4 separate regions of the Homo sapiens genome follow, and regions 2, 3 and 4 are each linked to region 1. The links are contacts of gene promoters, found by promoter capture Hi-C in blood cells and fetal thymus (Javierre and others, 2016). All regions are on one chromosome and are shown on one strand. The core of a region is centred on a gene start or on the middle of the fragment in contact, and the rest is flanking DNA. Distances in the headings are between cores, read along the strand shown. Region 1 holds the start of EMX1 (empty spiracles homeobox 1). Region 2 has its middle 10 kb from the start of NOTO. Region 3 overlaps EGR4 (early growth response 4). Region 4 overlaps NOTO (notochord homeobox).

Region 1 (2,934 bases), core at 354-2,853:
GACTGGCTACGACCTTAAAAGCCCTCTGCCCCCGCCCCCTGCCCGGGAAAACTGTCCTCGGTATTCCAGCAGCCGGGTGGGCTCCCTCCCGAAGGCGGCGAGCAACGGCGGAAGCCAGTTTGCTTACTGCAAACCTTCCCCACCTTGGGTAGGAGAGGCACGTGTGACTTGGAGAAGTCGGGCCAAGGTTGCCGAGAAACATCCCAAGACAGCCAGGCCCTCCACACTGAACATTAACTCTCCGATTCGCCCTCCCTGCTGCCCTTGCTTCCCCCAGAGCTGGGGCACGCGAATGGACTTTCCCCCGCCCGGACGCGCCAGCGAAGGCTGAGGTCTCGGAGGTGGTGGTGGACTTGCGAGAGAAGCGTGGTGCGAGGTTAAGCCGGGCGGAGGGAGAGCGGGAGGAGTTGTACTCTGGTCTGAGACTGGCTCAGCTGGGAGAGAGAATTGGGCAGGCTGTGGCGAGGGCCAGCACAGGCTCCGAGGACGCGCCTGGGCTTGCGTCCGAACTGGTATATTTTCTAGAAAAGCCTGGAGGTCTCCACCTGCTTTCCTGGGAGGGAGACCTACGCGGCGAAGGCGCGGGTGGATGCCGCACAGCTCTTCCCTGCCTGGGAATCTACCTCCGCGGACCTGCAGCCTTCCCGGCAGTAACTTCTAAACAGCCCCGCGCGCCCCCGAGCCTCCCCCGCATCGCCGCAGCACGGGCGCCGGCCGGCCGCCTCGGCGGGCACAGCGTGGACACTCACCCTGGAAGCGGTGGCCGAAGAAGCGGTTCCGCAGGACCCAGGGGTAGAAATGGAGAGGGTCCCGGTGCTGGGCGCCGAAGAAGGAGTGCGGGGGCTGCAGCGGGGAGGCGCCCAGCTGGTGCGCCGGATGCACGGTCAGCGCGGGGTGGTTCATGGCCTCGGGGAACACGAGCTCGGGCCCACCGTAGAGCGAGCGGCCCGCGCCCGCGGCGGCCGCGGCAGGGAAGCCACTCACGAAGGCCGCCTCGGCCGCGCTGGGGTGAGGGTAGTTGAGCGCCGTGGGCCGGAGCGGTTCCTCGGAGGCGGCCGCCGCCAGGAGATGGGAGCCCGCGCCCCCGCCGCCAGTGCCCCCGCCGGTGCCGCCGTCCTTGGCCACCAAGGACTCTATGGTAAAGCCGCGCTTGGCCGCGGGCTGGAACATGGTCGCAGCCGCGGGAGCTGTGCGAGGCAGCCGGGCTCTGGGGAGCGCTCCGCGTCCTGGCGCCGCCGCCTTGCGGGGTGTGCACCCAGCCAGGCACATGCACACCCGCCCGCACCCCTCACCTCCCCCGCCCGCCCGCTCGCGCTCGGCCCCCGCGGGCGAGCCAGGCGCGGAGCGGCGAGGGGTGTGTGAGCGAGCGACCGCGGGGTCCGGCCACAGCGTACGGCCAGGCGCGGCGGCTGCTGCGGCGGAGCGGGCAGCTCCAGGCGCCCGCACAGGCGCGGGCTCCGTGCTAGGCTGCGAGCTGCCAGTAAGGCCCGAGGGTTGAGCTCGTCTCCCTCCTTTCGGAGTCCCGCTGGGACCGACCCCAGCCCCCGGTGTCCCCGCACTGCCCTGCCCAGCCCCGGCCGCCCAGCGCTGCGAGGCGCGAGTTAGCGGGCACCTGCCCCGCGCTCGCCCATTGGCCGCCGCTCACCTGCCCCAAGGTGGGGGGCGGGGCGGGGCGGGGCGAGGGACGGCGGGTGGGGAGGGAGCCCGCAGTCGGAGGCAAAAGCCGGACTGGAGCCTTCGCGGGGAGATCCAGGCCTCCTCCTCCCCTCGCCACTGGCTTCTCCTCGCGACTCCGCCCTTTAGCTGAGTCTGGTGGCCGTGCCGCCGTCTCAACCCACGCGGGAGCCGAAGAAGGCGTCCGAAGGGCTTGGGGCTAAACTCCAACCCTCCCCTCCCCGGTGTGTAGCTCAGCCTAACTCTCCCATTCGTCCCGGGATGTCGTTTCAGTTCTCAGAGAACTTGGATCCGAGCGGAGGGTGGATGTTTGGGGTCCAACACATTGGTTTTCCCGAAAACCAGCTCTCTGCCCCCCTGCTCTCCGGGACTCTCCCACTCACCCACCATCGGCCTCCTGGGCCGCGGTCTGAAGCTGCGACCTTGTTCCTGAGGTTTCGCGTTTTCTGGATGTCACGGGGGACAGCTCTGGAAAGGGGACGCTCACTCCCTTCACAAGGGGCCAGGCGGGGCACTGCGCGGGAGAAGCCGCCGGAGCGGTCCCACTGCCACCCTCCAGCTGTTCGCGGGGCTGGAAGCAGCTCCAGTGCCCAGACACGGTGCCGCGACCGGCTTGGACCAGGACGGCGGGCCTCGGCACTGGGAGATCCACCCCCTCGCCTTCTCTGAGGCTCTGGGGGCTCAAGTGTCGGCGGGCCGGACCAGGTCAGGGCCTCGGAGACACTGTGGCTTAAATTGAAGCTGGCCAAGTAGCCCGAGCCCATCTCAAGAGAACACGCCAGCCGTCAGGACACGCAGAAGCAGCCTGACCTCCCTCGACCTTCACCTTCCACCCGCGACCGCGGAACCGCGGACGACTCTGCTCCGGCCAGTTTTTCCGTACGGCGGACGAATTCCCCGGGGGCAGTTCTCACGACAGGCTGTGAGAGCCGGGACTCCCCAAACTTTCCCACCCCACCTTCGAGGCCGCAGAAAGGCGCCGCTCCGAGGCCTAGGAGGGCGCGGGCGGCGGTGGGGAGGCTGGGACCTGGACCTTGCCGGCGCACTGCGGAGAGGGAGCCGCAGAGAGTTCCGCTTCCTCGCCGCTGCCGGGGTCCATTCTAGCGGCCTGAGCGCTGCCTGGGCGCGCAGATCTGGGTTGGGCCTCCTGACGCCCCAAGGCCACGGGGTCCGTGCGCCGCGCAACTCTGCGGGGACTCCAGGCCGGGTCTTGGCAGCGGCCCGCCTGAGCGCCGGGAGCCGTGGTTTGGAGAGCGCTCA
Region 2 (2,843 bases), core at 98-2,597, 270 kb before region 1:
GGCTGGAGTGCAGTGGGTGATCTCAGCTCACTGCAACCTCCACCCTCTGGGCTGAAGCCATCCTCCTACCTCTGCCTCCTGAGTAGCTGGGACCACAGGCACGTGCCACTGTGCCCAGCTATTTTTTTATAGTTTTAGTAGAGATGGGGTCTTGCCATGTTGCCCAGGCTGTTCTCAAACTCCTGAGCTCAAGTGATTCGCCTGCCTTGGCCTCCCAAAGTGCTGGGATTTTTTTTTTTTTTAATAGAGATGGGGCCTCACTATGTTACCCAGCGTAGTCTTGAACTCCTGGGCTCAAGCGATTCGCCTGCCTCAGCCTCCCAAAGTGCTGGGATCACAGGAGTGAGCCGCTGAGCCCAGCCAGGAGAATAATTTGCAATAGCTACTAAAATGTCAAAAGATTCCTTTTCAAAGATTCCTGTATAAGGATGTACATTGTAGCACCTTTTATAGTAGCAAAAGCCTGGAGGCAACTTAAGCATTCCCTAGATCTCCAGTGCCTAGAAGCAATCCAGGATTTTCTGATGAAATTAATTTTGGCGCTCAACCTTGAACAATCAGTTTTCTTTTTCTCACTTAATTGTGGAAATTCCTCCAAGCTACCCAGTTTAGACCTAACTCATTCTTTTTAGTGTCTGCTTAATGTTCCACAGTATGGGTGTGCCACAATTTATTCAACCTTTCTTCTGTTGAAAGGCATTCAGGTTGTTTTCTGCTTCTGCCCTACAAACAGAACTGGTAAGAAACATTATTTTAAATATATATTGTGTACTGGCTCTTTTATTTCTATACAAAAAGATCCCTGAATAGTATTAATGGACAGAAACCTGTAAGAGTTTATATTTTTAAATTGTAATTGATATTACCTTATTGATTTCTAAGACACTGTAAAAATTCACATGGCCCTTGTGACCTGCTGTATCCTCAGGGCCTAGTCCATGCCAGGGACTCAGTTGGCCAAACTAAAATAAAAATATTTAAAAAGAACAAATAAATTTGTCCAGGAGCTCTCGAGCTGTCCTCCAGCCAAATTCTTCCCCACTTCCCAACCCTCTTTCCCCACTAAAGGATTTTCCTTCCTTTTTTTTGTCTAAACCCATTAATATGCAAGTGAGCTGGGTAGCAAGGAGGAGAAGGAGGGAAAAATGGTAATAATAATAATGGGTAATATTTACAGATCACTTAAGCTTTGCACTTGGGTTATCTCACTTAAGTAGAGAATGAGTTTCCTTCTCTGGATTGAGGGAAGAAGAACGTTTTGAGCACTGGTTGAGATCTCAGAGTCACTGGGGAAGATGTGTTAGGAAGCCCCTTTGCTGCCCTTTCCCAACACCCTGTGAATCCTTGTCCCTTTTCTCCTTTTTCACTCTCCTTTTGCAGGGTCTTCATCTCTCTTTCTTTCTTTCTCTCTCTCTCTTTTCCCTCCCCTCTCTTTGTCCTTCCCTCTATTCCTTCCTTTCTCTTTCTCTCTCTTTTCTTCTTCCTTGTCTTTCCAAAGGGAAGCTTTTTCATGCAGAAGAAAGGTGCTAAATGGTGATGATGGAGTTTGTTGGACCTGGATGGAGGGCTGCCATGCAACGTGCCCTAAGTCAAGCCCAGCTTGCAGGGTCAGAGGGCCCCAGAGCTGCCTTGGGGAGGCCCCATACCACCTCCCCCTACCCCCTGCCTGGGCTGTCTCAGCTCCAGCCCACACCTGCTCTCCCCTCCCCTGCCCCTCCTGCTTCCCCTGCACCTGACAGGCCAAGAGCAAACAAGGTTGGTTGTTTGTTCCTCCCTCCCTGGAATGCACAGCTAACACATTGCACTTTGCAGTTACCTAGTGTTTCCTAACTTTTTCTTATGTATGCTGCCTTTAAGATTTTCTCTGAAATTCTATGCCCTTCAATTAGACTGAAGTCGACAAACATTTACTTGTTTGAGGCCTATTCTGTGTTGGGTTTTATGAGGGGTACAAAGTGCAATGAAATATACAATTCCTGCCCAATGGGAGCTCAGAGTCTTACGGTGAGGGTGGAGGGAGGGGACAGAGAGACTCATCCACAACTAGCTAATGCAACTGCCAAACCAAAGGGATGGATTCTATGGGAGTACAAAGGATGGAGAGATTAGTAATAACTTCATAGGCCAGGTGCAGTGATTTATGCCTGTAATCCCCACACTTTGGGAGGCCGAGGCAGGCAGATCACCTGAGGTCTGGAGTTCAAGACCAGCCTGGCCAACATAGTGAAACCCTGTCTCTACTAAAAATACAAAATTAGCCAGGCATGGTGGTGCATGCCTGTAATCCCAGCCACTCAGGAGGCTGAGGCAGGAGAATTGCTTGAACCCAGGAGGCGGAGGTTGCAGTGAGCCGAGATCGTGCCATTGCACTCCAGCCTGGGCCACAGGTGAGACTCCGTCTCAAAAATAAATAAATAAATAAATAAATAAATAAATAGATAAAGTAATAACTTCATAGGTCCAGGAGGGCTCTGTGGAGGACACTTTCCTCTGCAGAGGCATCTGAAGAGAGGGAAGTCTATCAAGGGATGAGAGTGGGTGAGATCACACGGAGAGAAAATGCTGTAGTAAAAGAGAAAGGGGCTTGTATGGATCCCTTGGGGACTGCTATGTTTAGGGACAGCAAGGACAGAAGAAGAAGGATTAGTCAGAGAGGAAGGTTGACAGCCAGGGCAAATAACCCTTGTGCAGTGAGATAAGTATGTTTTCTATTCACTTGGAGCACTTTATACAGCTGGTTGGGACTTTAGCAGCAAACTAGTCAAAGCCCTTTCTTTCTTTCCTTCCTTCCTTCCTTCTTTCTTTCGTTCTTTTTTTTCCTTCCTTCCTTCCTTCCTTCCTTC
Region 3 (2,915 bases), core at 50-2,549, 370 kb before region 1:
CCGAACCCGACGCGCTCCTCGTCAAGTCCACTGAAGGCTGTTGCGCCGAACCCAGCGCTGAATTGCCCCGGCTGCCTGCCAGGGACGCTCCCGCGGCCACCGGCTACCCTGGAGGTAAGGAGGGCGAGCAGGGGTGCTCAGACGACGACGGCGCAGCGCGGGGGCGCACCATACCTGAGAACCAGGAGGGACTGGGACATTGGAGCTATGAGAATAGGGGCGATGGGAAGCTTAGGAGTCCTGGGGTGCGCACCCCCATTCCCACCCACACTGGGCCGCCAGCGCCTCCGCAGGAACCTGTGCGGTTATCGGAGCGCCCTTTTGCCTGTGCACGTGTGTTTTGCGTGTGCATGTTTCTATGTGCTCCTTGGGACGTATGCGGGCCCCTGCTGAATCAGAATGTGCAAAAGGCACTTTGTGTATATCCGTGGGCACCAAGAGTTTTGTAGGTAGGGGCTGTGGACTCAGGTGCACCCTTTGATGTGCCCAGAGCTGATTCCTGCTCCCTCCTCAGCAGGCGACTTCTTGAGCTGGGCTTTGAACAGCTGCGGCGCAAGTGGGGACTTAGCCGACTCCTGCTTCCTGGAGGGGCCTGCGCCCACACCCCCTCCCGGCCTCAGCTACAGCGGTAGCTTCTTCATTCAGGCAGTGCCCGAACACCCGCACGACCCGGAGGCACTCTTCAACCTCATGTCGGGCATCTTAGGCCTGGCACCCTTCCCCGGTCCAGAGGCAGCAGCGTCCAGATCCCCGCTGGATGCCCCTTTTCCTGCGGGGTCCGATGCCTTGCTGCCGGGTCCGCCGGACCTTTACTCCCCGGATCTGGGCGCTGCCCCTTTCCCAGAGGCGTTCTGGGAGGCCTCGCCTTGCGCGGGTGCCCCCTCGCAGTGCCTGTATGAGCCTCAGCTCTCCCCGCCCGACGTCAAGCCCGGCCTCCGGGCGCCTCCCGCCTCGCCAGCGCTGGACGCTGTCTCTGCCTTCAAGGGTCCCTACGCGCCCTGGGAGCTGCTTTCTGTGGGGGCCCCAGGGAACTGTGGGTCACAGGGAGACTACCAGGCCGCCCCGGAGGCTCGTTTTCCCGTAATAGGGACCAAGATTGAGGACTTGCTGTCCATCAGCTGCCCTGCGGAACTGCCGGCCGTCCCAGCCAACAGACTCTATCCCAGCGGGGCCTATGACGCTTTCCCGCTGGCCCCGGGTGACTTAGGGGAGGGGGCTGAGGGCCTCCCTGGGCTCCTGACCCCTCCTAGTGGGGAGGGAGGGAGTAGCGGCGACGGCGGAGAGTTTCTGGCCAGTACGCAGCCTCAGCTTTCCCCGCTGGGCCTTCGCAGCGCCGCCGCGGCGGACTTCCCTAAACCTCTGGTGGCGGACATCCCTGGAAGCAGTGGCGTGGCTGCACCACCCGTGCCGCCGCCGCCGCCCACCCCTTTCCCCCAGGCCAAGGCGCGACGCAAGGGGCGCCGCGGCGGCAAATGCAGCACGCGCTGCTTCTGCCCGCGGCCGCACGCCAAGGCCTTCGCTTGCCCGGTGGAGAGTTGTGTGCGGAGCTTTGCGCGCTCCGACGAGCTCAATCGCCACCTGCGCATCCACACGGGCCACAAACCCTTCCAGTGCCGCATCTGCCTCCGCAACTTCAGCCGCAGCGACCACCTCACCACGCACGTGCGCACCCACACCGGCGAGAAGCCTTTTGCTTGCGACGTGTGCGGCCGCCGCTTCGCGCGCAGCGATGAGAAGAAACGGCACAGCAAGGTGCACCTCAAGCAGAAGGCGCGCGCCGAGGAGCGGCTCAAGGGCCTCGGCTTTTACTCGCTGGGCCTCTCCTTCGCTTCTCTCTGAGCAAGAGATGGGTTTATGGGTTGGGGCGCCGCCGTTCGGCGCGCACGAGTTCCGGGCCGTTCCCCTCCCCGCTCTTCTTCCAACTCCTCCTCGCACGCCCGAGGGCCGGCCTCCGGTCCCGCTTCCAGTTTCCTTGAAGCGCCCGCCGCACACGCCCTATTCAGCACCAGCTCCGCGGACAGTTCCCGCGGTCCAGGCGCTGTCACCCTTGTCAGCCGCGCTTTGGGGGAAGTCTTCTGAGACCACCCAGTGAATAGGCACTACCCTGGGATTCAAGACAGTCTTTTGTAACTGGCACACGCCCCACGCCTTCCTCTATAACCCCCAGAGACAGGCTGGGGCAGCGCCAAGGCGGTCTCGCGCGGGACTTTGTACAGCAGTGTCTTATCCAGCAGCCATTGGATGTAACGTTTTGCTTTGGGTTTTTTTTCCTTTTGTTGTTGTTAATTTTTGTAAAGCAGACGCTACTCTCAAGCAGTTGACAAAACTGTTTATTTTTGCAATTAAAATTATTGTGCTAAAAGCTTACTGAATCTGCCATGTAAGCTCCTGACCCTTCCCCTTAGCTTCTCCCCCAGGACCATATGTGCCAGAAGATAAAGGAGATCCCCACGCTCATGGGATACAGACCCTGAACATATTACACACCCACTGTCAGGCACACCTGCCAGGAACTGCGGCACAGAGTAGGCATTCAGTAAATGTGTGTTGGGTTAATGAACGAATTTAATCACAGCTCACCTAAGGGCTGGAGGTGTTTCTGGAACTTCAAAGTGGTTAAAAGGCGTAGGTGTTCAACATTATGTATATATTATTCTCCTTAATCCTCGCATTCCCAAATAAAGCAGGCATATACCTCATTTCAAAGATGTGGAAGCAATGTAGATAGCTTGCTGGAACAATGTAGTTAACCCAGGCTAGGAACAGACAGGTCAAACAAATCTGTCCAACTTCAAAGCCAACCCTCATTTTCCAACCCCAGAATGGAGACACCTAAACTTAATAGCACTGATTGGAAAGGCTTCCTACCAGAAGGTGAGAAACAGGTTTGGCAGCTAGAGGGAGCTCCAGGCAGT
Region 4 (2,700 bases), core at 172-2,671, 290 kb before region 1:
GGGGAGGTCTAGACTGCAATGAGCCGTGATCAAGCCACAATTATCTATCAAATAATTATAGATAGATAGATAGTTGGCAGGGACAGAGAAAGGTTCTTGAAACTGACCCTGCCTCTCCTCAAGCTTGCAACCTGGTGTCAAGGAGCGAATAGTCCACGGACTTGGGGGAGATAGATAGTTGGCAGGGCCAGAGAAGAGGCTCTTGAAACCGACCCTGGGTCCCCTCAAGCCTGCAGCCCGGTGTCAGGGAGCGAATAGTCCACGTACTTGGGGGCAAACCTACCCGAGAGCAGCTGGGGGCCGTGCCCTCACTCACCACCAGGTGGCAGGGCAGGCTTCCTTCCATCCCTCAGCTCAGTCCCCAAGAGCCATTCTAGAATCTGAATGGTCTGTGCTACAGAAATCAGCTCTGCAAATCCTGGCAGCAGGCTTCTTTCAGAGAAATCGAGCACATTCTTGAGAAGAAAAAGGAGCCATGAGTCAGAGTCATGAAAGGGGGAAATTATAACTGTCCTGTGAAAACACAGCAGAGTTTATGACAAAATGCCAGCCTTGGCATACACAAATTATTCTATAAAAAGATGGGGCTTTGGGAGGCCAAGGCAGGAGAACCACTTGAAGCCTGGAATTCAAGACCAGCCTGGGCAACAAGTGGACGTTGTCTCTACAAAAAATGTTAAAAATTAGCCAGGCGTGGTGTCACGCGCCTGTAGTCCCAGCTGCTTAGGAGGCTAAGGTGGGAGGATCACTAGAGCCCAGGAGGTTGAGGCTGCCGTGAGCTATGATTGCACCACTGCACTCCAGTCTGGGTGACAGAGCGAGTCCTTGTCTTTGCTGCTGGGCCTGAGCTTCTTCTGAGAATGGTAACAGTTCAGACAAAACAAGAAAACGTTGGGAAACTTTGTGAAGTGGGCTAAACAGTCTACCTTCTCTTCTTTGCTCTCAACTCCTTCTGATGGTGAAGAGTCTTCTATGCCCAGATGCTTATTCAAAGAGGTTCCTTCTCCACAGCCAGGCCAGGAAAATATTAATTGCTGGTACAGGTATTACTCCCCCAGGTGAGGGGAGCTGTGATATTATGAAATATATATTTGGTCTTCATCTCGATTTCCTGGCATAGAACTCCTAAAATCCCTAGAATCTCTGAAGTGATGTCTTTTCATATGCTAATGAGTTGACTGATGACTGGTAGACCTTAAGACTCCATAAAAAACAAAAAGGGCAGGGTTGGGCCGGGTGGTGGCTCACACATGTAATCCCAGCACTTTGGGAGGCCGAGGTGGGTGGATCACAAGGTCAGCAGTTCAAGACCAGCCTGACCATATGATGAAACCCCGTCTCTACTAAAAATATAAAAATTAGCCAGGCATGGTGGCATGCGCCTATAGTCCCAGCTGCTCGGGAGGCTGAGGCAGGAGAATCGCTTGAACCCGGGAGGCGGAGGTGGCGGTGAGCCAAGATCGCGCCACTGCAGTCTGTCTCAAAAAAAAAAGAAAGGAGGGGCTGCCATGTGGAATGAGCCCTGAATCTGTGGGGTCAGACACTACCTGCAGGTAGATCATGTCAGAATTTGCTGAACTGGAGGTTGGAATGTGGGGTACACCCCTATACGTTTGGTCACAGAAGTGTTCTGTGTTGATTGTTGTGGGGTGACAGCAGAAGAAAAAAACTTTTTTTTTTCCAGTTGGTCTTCTCTACTCAGGGGCCTACAAGCCTTAACAGTAACCACACACTTTGCACTGTGCATGGCACATTATTGCTTTACAGACATCTTCTCACCCCTGGGTGATCTAAGTTATGAATGCACCCATTATACAGATAAAGAAAAAAGGCTCGGAAGTTCCATAGGTTGGCCAAGGACATAGCTGAAGGCCAGAGTCTGTGCCTCCAATCATTACATTATTCCAGTTTCCAGGAATCAGTATAGAAAAGGGGGTCCCTGCTTGACAGCTCAGATTCTTCTGGTTGAGGAGGCTTTTCGTTGAGGTGTGAGGCAGGGAGCTCCAGTGGGTACCCCCAGGAGGAACTAGTCCAGGCAGCCTGGCTAGGGCCTCTGTCCCAGTCTTCAGCCGTCCACTCCTGACTCGGCATCATCACTCTGGATACTGGCGATGGAGCTGCTGGAAGGCTCATCCAGGGAGGCAGCCTCGGCAGATGTAACTGCTGCCCTCAGCTTTTGCTGCTTCTGATACTTGACCCTGCGGTTCTGGAACCAGACTCTCACCTATAATTGGAGAGTGGGCAGAGATCAGAATGTGACCATCAGGTCCCACTGCTTCCTAATTCCTGGAGTGAACACCCCTCTCTGCCTGGCCAATATTTGCTCTTCCTTCTCAGGGAGGTACCTCCTCCAAAACACCCCTTTCTACAATTCCAGACACCATTCATTCATCTGAGTATTTACTGAGTTTCCAGTATGTGCTAAGCACCATCCTAGGTGATGCTGATACAGTGGTGAGCAACAGAGGCAAGCTGCCTGCCCTCGTGGAGCTCATGAGCTAGTGAAGAAACACTGGCAAGAAACATGTAAACAAACAAAGAGCTATGTAAACACAAAAGGGGGTACAAACAGGGGTTTGGGCAGAGGAGGCCTCCCTAAGGAGCCAGCATTAAAGCTGAGGCTCAAAGAGAGAGAGGCCCACCTGATGGGGACAGAGAAGAGCAGGTCTGCAGGGCAGGGAACAACCTGTAGGAAGGCTC

The links. Contacts are between HindIII fragments. The CHiCAGO score rates a contact against its expected background, and 5 or more counts as called.
Region 2: a fragment that was not itself captured here is called in contact with the fragment with the promoter of EMX1 in region 1 in 10 of 17 cell types (endothelial precursors, megakaryocytes, naive CD8 T cells and 7 more); the score reaches 10.0 in endothelial precursors.
Region 3: a contact is called between a fragment that was not itself captured here and the fragment with the promoter of EMX1 in region 1, in 2 of 17 cell types (fetal thymus and total B cells). The highest score is 6.3, in fetal thymus.
Region 4: a fragment that was not itself captured here is called in contact with the fragment with the promoter of EMX1 in region 1 in 1 of 17 cell types (endothelial precursors); the score reaches 7.1 in endothelial precursors.

The regions. Positions count from the first base shown.
Region 1 is chr2:72,916,188-72,919,121 of GRCh38, reverse strand. It overlaps EMX1 (empty spiracles homeobox 1), which reads right to left and starts at 1,603. Exons shown (of 3, transcript NM_004097.3): 1 at 750-1,603. The coding sequence starts at 1,269. RefSeq lists silencers at 1,198-1,317, 1,388-1,807 and enhancers at 1,622-2,238, 2,239-2,856. The HindIII fragment of the contact is 6,474 bases long and covers 1-2,934 here.
Region 2 is chr2:73,190,836-73,193,678 of GRCh38, reverse strand. No RefSeq gene overlaps it. Among named protein-coding and RNA genes, the nearest start is that of NOTO, 10 kb to the left of the region's middle. The HindIII fragment of the contact is 316 bases long and covers 1,190-1,505 here.
Region 3 is chr2:73,290,381-73,293,295 of GRCh38, reverse strand. It overlaps EGR4 (early growth response 4), which reads left to right. Exons shown (of 2, transcript NM_001965.4): 1 at 1-114; 2 at 515-2,367. The coding sequence ends at 1,839. Among named protein-coding and RNA genes, the nearest start is that of EGR4, 1.7 kb to the left of the region's middle. RefSeq lists an enhancer at 1,462-2,157. The HindIII fragment of the contact is 2,133 bases long and covers 233-2,365 here.
Region 4 is chr2:73,210,295-73,212,994 of GRCh38, reverse strand. It overlaps NOTO (notochord homeobox), which reads right to left. Exons shown (of 3, transcript NM_001134462.2): 3 at 482-2,224. The coding sequence ends at 2,066. Among named protein-coding and RNA genes, the nearest start is that of SMYD5, 2.6 kb to the left of the region's middle. RefSeq lists a silencer at 217-286. The HindIII fragment of the contact is 2,592 bases long and covers 126-2,700 here.